Regions from separate parts of the Homo sapiens genome. Here regions 2 and 3 are each linked to region 1. The links are contacts of gene promoters, found by promoter capture Hi-C in human tissues and cell types (Jung and others, 2019). All regions are on one chromosome and are shown on one strand. Each heading gives the region's core, a stretch centred on a gene start or on the middle of the fragment in contact. The rest is flanking DNA. Distances are from core to core; before and after follow the strand shown.

Region 1 (2,790 bases), core at 125-2,624:
TTTCCTCCCCTCCTGAATTTGGCACACTAAATGCAAAACCGTGCCCCATTTTAAGGATACAATCCGAGATGCGTGAACACAAGAACATATGAAAACTCACATGAATTGTCAAAATGGGTCCTAAGACAGCAAGCTCAGGACCTATCCTCAAGTACAGGAAAGATTACTCAAGCTATGCACAGTGGCATTAAGCCTGCAATCAGCTGAAAATTTTTCACCCTGAAATTTTTGCCTTTTTTTCCTTCAGGTATTGCTGTGATGACATAAACCAAAGTGCTAATCGTAACAATAACAGACCCCATACGTGAGTTTCACTGAAACCTGGGGACCCAATGTGTCAAATACCATTTGGCATAAGTGGGGCCATGGCCAAGATTTTTATTATAATAGAGTGTTCTGGACGGATTTGTCTTGTCTCAGATGCTATTTTATATGACAACCTCTAGGGATGGTCAGTGTGTGAACCAGGTAGGTATCAGCATACTCTCTTAATAACAGGAAGTTCTGGTTTCCTTGTAGGAATGCATTATCTTCACCCTAGCAACAGATGACTGTTGGCAACCCAATTCTGCAAGCAGTGCATATCTTCTATTCCTCCATGAAAGGTTTCTACTTAAATGTAACAAGCATTGGACCCGAAATGAGGGAGCCCAGCTGGGGTCTTTGGGTGAAAAGTGTCCTCAACCTCTTCAAAAGCAGAGGTGCAAATGGTCCCCAGGCAGCGAGGCAGGCAAGGCTTCTAGGTGAAGCCCCCGGCCCCCAGAGAGGGGAACCTCTTCCTGTGATGGGTACACCGGGATGTTTAACCACTGGTTTTCTGGGAACGAGATGCAAACCCTGGCTCAGCATAGGGCCAAAGACGCTGACAAGAGGTAAGGAAAGGGGAAGTCAGGATTCTAAGGGGGCAATGGGAAAAGGGTGGCATTTTGGATGGGGAAATGGGTAATCACACACTCCAGAGCACGCAGGCTTTTATGGGCCCAGAGGAAACCCAGTCCACTGGGCTGATGAAGAGCCCTAAGTGACTCTGCCAGAGAAGGGCAGGCTGGCAATGACCCTGCCCCGGGGTCCCAGCTCTCCCCGCCCCCTCTCCGCTGCGTGCCAGCCCACGGGTGCCAGAGTGGATTCGTGTGCACATGAGTTCCTGCTGGTGGGGGCCGGGAAGCCGGCTCTCCCAACTCCCCGCCATGCTGCGGGCTCGGGGACCCCCTCCCCAGCCCCGGCCACCCCGGCAGGTCCCCTCCGCCGAGCCGCGGGCGCAGATGGCCGGCGGCCGCCTCTTACCCGACTTGTTGCTGCTGCTGCTGCAGCCGCCGCCTCCGGTGCTGATGCTGCGGGAGCGAAGCGGTTTTCAGCAGAGCCGTAAATCAGACTGAGCCGGGCCGGCTCCCACTCCCCGCCGCACCTCCGCGCCGGGACCGGCGGCGTCCAGGGCGGAGCGAGGCGCGGCTAGCCAGCGGGGGCGGCGCTCGCGGGCACCGTGGGGCACCGCGCCGTGGGTGCGGGGGTTCCGGAACGCCGCGGCCCAGGGCTGCCACCTCCGCGGGGAACACCCTTGCTCTGCCCAGCTGGCGGGAGCATCATCTGCCCCCCCGCCACCCAGCCGGGAGCCCGATCCGACTCAGGATTACACTGACATCACTGCGAGAGATGCTGGGATCATTCCCCGGGGGAGGGAAGGAAAGACGCGTGTCAGCCTCGCAGTCGCGGCGCTTTCTGCAGGCCCTGGCAAGCTTTTTTGCACTAGTTTGGGGGGAGCGGGAGAGTGTGGATGAGGATGCAGCATAGCTGGGCATCTTCTTTGAAAATCTACCCGTTGGAAGGTCCGGGTATTTAATTAGGACCTCTTCATCCCAAGCAGCAGGGCGAGAATGTCCCAAAATAACTAACCCAGAGAGTACACTCCAGCCTTCCTAGCCAAGTGTCCTGAGGCTACGTTAACAGGCAGAACTAAATCTAGTAAAGTGCAGGGATTAATGAACAAACAGTTAAAGCAACAAGATCCCTCACCTACACCCCCATTTCTGAGGCGGACGCCCCTTTCCCTGGAGAAAAAATTTGTCCTCCTAAAGAGGGGATGTCCTGAAGAGAAGACGGCAAATCATTCCTTCTGAAGGACTCTGATGTCTCAGCTTGCTGGGCTTTTGCTTTTTTTTTTTTTTTTTTTTTTTTTTAACCTGTTTTGGTTTACCCCTACTGTAACTCCTGAAATGTGAAACCTAGATAAAAGTTACTGCTGGGTTTTCTTGTTCAAAGAAGAGAAGAGATTCTGTTCATCTGTAGACAGTTAATGCATCCTCTTGACTTCTCAGGGTGTCTTTTCTCAAGGCTTGCTGTTACTCATTTCAACACCCGATTTTATTTTAACGGTAAAGAGCTCAACAGTTATCTTAGTTGAAATTTTGTTTTGTTTTTGACAAATGAAAACAAATGAATTGCTTTGTTTTTTCACAAATGAATTATCACATCAAATGCAATGAAGATCCCAAGCTCTGGCATCAGACTTGATTCAAATCCTGGTTCTAGGGCCTGGGTCAAGTAACTAGACTTTTCTGTTCCTTCAATTCCTCATCTATGAAATGAAGATAATCAAGACCTACCTCTTAATATAGCGGTGGATCGAATGTGCTATGATGATGGAGGTAAAAACCCTGCCTGACAGGGACACACACTGATAAAGTCAGCTGTTATCGTTGTTGCTACTTCATTTATAATTATTATTAATTCCATAAAAAAGGGGCCTACACACATTTAAAAAGCAGGAAGGAGAAGAGGAATTAATATGTACTA
Region 2 (2,715 bases), core at 190-2,689, 300 kb after region 1:
CAAAAAACACCGATTGGGTTTTGAGGGCAGCAGTAAATAAAAAAGACAGTTAATCAAATGGCAAATCTATCCTATCCAAGAAAATGCAACAGGCCAGTAGGAGAGGGCTTCTTGCCCATTCCAAATGTAATCTTAGGCTGTGTTGATAGACTGACACTGCCCGCATCCTGAGAAATACTACATGCCACATCTGGAGTAGCTTTGGGTATTCTGAGTGACACAAACTGGAGGCGCCTGCATGAGAGCAAGCCGAGCTGGTGAAGGTCCATTACTGACGCTCTGAGGCTTGGTTGAATGGAACAGGAAGACCTGAAGTGAAAGAGGAGCTTTGACAAGCTCCTGGACGCTGATCAGAGCAAAGGGAGCAGACATGTGGCGAGTCGTCCTCCGAAGGCAAGGCAAGGTCAATGGGAAGCCACAGAGGGTGTTTTGCTCAGCACACGGAAGAGTGTGTAGAGCAGAGTAAGAGCGCCTGGAACCCTGAAGCTTCCTCTAGGCCCTCCCACTGCAGGGCGCTGTATCAGAGGCTGGAGAGCCTAGTGTCAAGCATATTTCAGTCTTTGTGGAACTTGGCATCCTGTAGGCTATATTTTGCCCCTGGGCATGTTTGATTTAGCTTATATAAAATATTTTTTTAAATATTGGAGCCAGTGTTTGTAAGTTAGGTTATTTCACATTAAAAAAATATCTTGAAAACATAGAAGGTCAGGAAGCGCACAGACGGCATCTACCTACAGCAACAGTGTGGGCTGGTCCCTTTGGGCTCTCTGGCCCGGGCTGTGCGTGCCAGTTTCACACTTTCCAGCCGTGGCCCCTGCACTCATCTTTGCTACCTGCCTCCATAAATATCTGAGTTTGTGGCCAAGATGTAGGAGCGGACCTTCTCCACTGACCTGGGTGAAAGACGAGTTTTCTAAATTTCCCATCTGATGCTGACTGATGCTTTTGTAAACAACCATAAAAATGAATTACTAGAAAAATGGAATTCAAAAGGAGGCATACAAAACACAAGCCCCAAGTTTTTATTAGCTTCAACAGACATAATGTTATTCTGGCAAATTTCAGCGTAAGTGTATCAATGCTTATTCGCAATTGCTGTGCTTATTAGCTTGTTATGGGCTAGTAGAAAACAGTTCATGGACAAGTCAGAAAATCTCATTTGAGTAGCACTGGTCTAGGGAGTTGCTAGGGGTCCTCTTAAATATACAATTCTGAGATGTGGCCTGTGACTTTCTGAATTGCGTATCTATTAACTCCAAGGGTGTCCAAATGAGCAAGAATACATGGAATCATGTCCTTGATGTGCACAGAACTGTAACTCACCTTTCCTTCCCCAGCCTTTATCCATGGTATGATTAGGTGGGTTCCTTAGAACCTGATATATTTTTGGTCCTTAACTTAAAGCACATGCTTATCTTATTCAAAACATGAAGCCTCCCACACTCTACCTTATACCTTCAGAGAAAAAAGGCAGAAGCTCCAGCTATCACCCAGTATCTGCCCAAGTACATCTGGCTTGGGTACAGCTCACCTTAAGTCCCTGCAAAGAAAGCTGCCTCAGCCATGCAGGGTGACAATCTTGTCCAAGGAATGCTTATGGTAAAAGCAAAAGGTTGGATTTGAAATTAGGCATTATGTGTGCAAGAAGATGAAGAATAGTTGCTAATTTCCCTCACAAACAAATACATTTGTTTATGATTTTGATTTTCTAAATACTCAAAAATGCACATCATAAAGTACTTTTGCTTTAATGCTCCTTTTAAAATCCCTAATAACAACTTCATGTGCTCCACAGAAACAGACCATGTAATTTATTCAGGAAAATTAAAACCAGTAATCTAGCATTCTGAGTAAAGATTTTTTTCCCCCTGCATGGACTTTAAAAACATTTTTTAAAAAGGGAAATCTGCATGTGAAAACAAAGCCTTTAAAGTGATTTACTATTCCAGAAAATCAAGCTAAGAGAATTCCATAAAAGTAGTCGTTTTCCTTTTTGTTCCTTTACTGATAAAAATAAAGTGAACTGGTTACTTTTAAGTAAAGAGTTAGACAAGAAAGAAAATGTTCCACTTAGAAAGAATGAGGTGGGTATTTTTCTTTGCATCAAAAGCTACAGTAACTTCATCTATAAATCCTGAGCAAGAAATGTCCAGAATAACCACATTTCATAAGCTTTGCTGAGTTTGAGACATCTACATAGCAACAGCCTTGCGATGGGAAAACATTAATGCTTTTTATATTGGTAATCATCTGTAACATGAGCAATTAAGTACAGTACTAATGGACTATGGCCAGGAGCCTGGTACTAATATTAAAAACTGACAGAGATGAATAGATTTGGAAGCAAAACCCGGCTGACAAAGACATTTTTATGAAGTGCTTGGACCTATTTGATTTAAACCAATCAGAGGCAAGTTTGTACGAGTCAGGCCTTCAGTGACAATGATGTATTCACAAGCATTGTACCATTTCTGCTTTGCCTTAAATAAAAACACCCATTGATTCTTTTCAACAACCCACACTTTCATTATTGCACTCATTAATAAACCAAAAGTGCTCAACTAATATACAAGTAACATTTTACTGAGGAACTGGCTACATTTTTCTTGTTGTAAAATGAAAACGTTTACTGGAAACATGAACCACAGTGCATGAAAAATAAATCAGTGGATAATGCATAGAGATCACTCACTTCTTCATCTTCTAGGAAAGCAA
Region 3 (2,847 bases), core at 178-2,677, 320 kb after region 1:
CATACAGTTTAATATCTTTCGACTGGTCCTGCAAAGATAAAACTTCCTCTGAAACTGATTCAATGGGGCTTCTAGGTAGGATTTTAACTTTTAAGGGGCTATGGAAATGGGACTAAAACAATTTTCCCATGTAGATTTTGTACTCTCTAACATTATATGAAGGCGAACATCCCGTGAAACTTTATGTTGTCATCATTTTTCACTGCCAAATTTTAGGCTGTTGGATCTAAAGTTCTGATGAAATCTATAATTTAATGGCTTCTTGAAATCATAACATCACTCCAGTTTTAATTTGTATTGCCTCCCACCCCTTCCTGAGTGTTTCCTGGGCAGCCAGGCTCCATTCTCAACGCTGTTTATGTGTTATTTCAAACTTAAAACCCGAATGAGGTAGTTATTATTTTCGTATTAGAAATGAGGAAACGGAGGTAGACAGGATGAGCAGCATGTACAACATCACAAGATCATGCCCTAGTTAGTAAGTGGGGAATCTGGAATTTAAGCCCAGGCAGCCTTACTTTAGGGCTTATGGTTTTAAATGTTATACTTTTCTGACACTCTTAATACAAATATTAAATTGGTAATGAAAACAAACTTCTAATTAAAAAGCCTATCTTATTACCAGGCATTACGAAACCTACCACTTAGAAATGTGATTTATCAAATGAAAAGCAAAAGACAAATCTAGGGGGTTTCCAATGTGTCAAGGAGCTCCATTCCTCCTATTGTATATTGAGCAAAGGGGAAGGAAATCAGTTTTCAATTGAGCACCTACAATGAGCTAGATACAGTGCTGTGGGCTTCACATACTCTACCTTCATGTTCCTGAGAATTGTAAAAGGGAGATATTTAGCCACATTTTACAGTTGAGGAAACTAGAGCTTAGTGAGGTCATGTATGGTTTGGAAGGGGCAGACCTCTGGGTTTAGAACTCAGGTCTGCCCCACTCCAAACCCCAATTTTATAACATAAAGGAGTAGATCTCTCAGGTTTGTGTACAAAACTGACTGAGTCTTAAATTTGCAGTGATAATGGGCCAACTACCTATATTATTAGGTCAGAAGAACCACTGTTAAAAGGAGAATAAGGTTTGAGCTCCTTGGTGTGTAGAGAGCTGCTTAACCCTCTTCCTCATCTGTGTAGAAACACTCAGAAACAGAAAGAAGACACAGAGGGGTGCATGAACCAGGTCCAAAGTAACCCAGACTCCCTGCTACATAGCAAAGGCTCCAAATGAAGCCAGGCTGCTGCCTACTGAACTCTGTCCTGAATCTCAGTGGGCTTGCCAGCATGCTGCTCCTGGGGAGGCCAGGTACTTAGTAAGAAGTGAACAAGTAAACAGAAGCTTCTTTTCTTGTTCTAGCTTGATATTTTTTTTTTTCAGTTAAGATAAATGAGCTCTTTAGGGTATTATTCTGATTCTGGGTAGGACTAAATCAAGTTCCTTTCTGTATGTTTTTACATTTACCCAAAGCATTCTCAGCATTTCAATCTATTAAATTATTACAGTGCAGGTGGTAGTGGAAATGGGAGCTAGTCTTCATGTTGACCTAAGAAAGCCCAGCCTTTTGATGGTGACAGTTAATTACTAGATCTGTTTTTCCTGACCTGAACACCATACACCTGTTGAGTTCACTAAGTACTTTGGGGTTTCCAAAATGATTGAGGAGGTGCTAATTAAAGAATCAACATTTAACGTTTTCAATGATCCACCACCTATTTGATATTAACCACATCCTTCCACGGGATTGAGTTATAACTAATCCAGCCTTCAACTGGGGCAGTAAGATGTGCTGAACCAGCAATACAAAAAGCTAGAGTTCTAATCTTGGTTTGGTTGCTAACTTGCTAGGTGACCCTCAGTTTCTACCTTAGTAAAGCAAAAATGATAATCCCTGGGAATAGTTCTGAGGACCAAATGAGAGGAAAAATATTGAAAATAATGAAAGTATCACATTTGTGAAATATAGAAAGTATGTTTATGGTTTAAATGAACACACTTCCCACCACAGTTTCCTTTTTTGTGTTCCTTTTAGAATATAAACCACCTGTAATACACTTCTGCCCTTCAGAAAATGCATACGGGATATTAAAAATAATTTGCCTTCTATCAATGTAGGCCTTTTATTAGGGTCCTATGCCATGAAGATTTCTGTTATAGATCACTCTATGAAAGGCCTGGGCCTCAGGTTCACTGCTTTAAGATTATTCCAGAAAAAAATGGCAGGATTTGGGCTGAACACAGTCATGAGATCTTCAAAGAACTGGTAGTTTCCTCCCCACGTGACACTTGCTGTCTTTGGGGAGCCATGTAATTCTCTCTCCGTTGGAAAACATGGTCTTGCAAAGCTGGTTTTCATGTTCTCATTGAGGGAGTGCAACGTTTTGATGGCGACCGGCAAATCACTTGACTTATTTTTCCAGTCATGAACACAACAAACCCAGTGGGTCCCACTCTAAGAGCTTTGCTGTGTGGAGCTGCATGAAGTTGGTGCTTAGTTAGAAATGGTCTGTTTGAGGCACTTTTAAAAAGAAACAGTCACATGGGTCTTGGTCACAAAGTCAAACAGCTCACTGTCCTCTAAGATGCTGCTTTCAATTCAACAGATGATTAGATGGTCACAGACTCATAATCTCTACTGCAGTGTTTCATGAGAAAAGACCATGTTAAGACACACATGCTTTTTAATGACTGTCCTCATCCCAGATGTGGCTTGTTCATTCTGTAGGGATTTTACATCTGCCTGTTGGTGTCAACAGACAAGCTCGTCACACTTCATACCTACTGATCTTTTTGCTTAAGTGGTCTTGCCAGACCCACTGGAAGCAGCCAAGGCATGACTGTAA

Evidence for each region. Contacts are between HindIII fragments. The study calls those that stand out against the background at their distance.
Region 2: a contact is called between a fragment that was not itself captured here and the fragment with the promoter of ZNF365 in region 1, in 2 of the 25 tissues and cell types used here (dorsolateral prefrontal cortex and hippocampus).
Region 3: a fragment that was not itself captured here is called in contact with the fragment with the promoter of ZNF365 in region 1 in 1 of the 25 tissues and cell types used here (hippocampus).

Annotation. Positions count from the first base shown.
Region 1 is chr10:62,372,953-62,375,742 of GRCh38, reverse strand. ZNF365 (zinc finger protein 365) reads right to left here and starts at 1,374. Exons shown (of 5, transcript NM_014951.3): 1 at 1,285-1,374. It overlaps LOC283045 (a long non-coding RNA gene), which reads left to right and starts at 616. Exons shown (of 4, transcript NR_104162.1): 1 at 616-872. The HindIII fragment of the contact is 5,251 bases long and covers 1-2,790 here.
Region 2 is chr10:62,073,233-62,075,947 of GRCh38, reverse strand. The region is part of intron 8 of ARID5B (AT-rich interaction domain 5B); the gene reads right to left. Among named protein-coding and RNA genes, the nearest start is that of ARID5B, 170 kb to the right of the region's middle. The HindIII fragment of the contact is 3,530 bases long and covers 1-2,715 here.
Region 3 is chr10:62,052,928-62,055,774 of GRCh38, reverse strand. All of the region lies in intron 5 of ARID5B (AT-rich interaction domain 5B), which reads right to left. Among named protein-coding and RNA genes, the nearest start is that of ARID5B, 150 kb to the right of the region's middle. RefSeq lists an enhancer at 971-1,090. The HindIII fragment of the contact is 5,484 bases long and covers 1-2,847 here.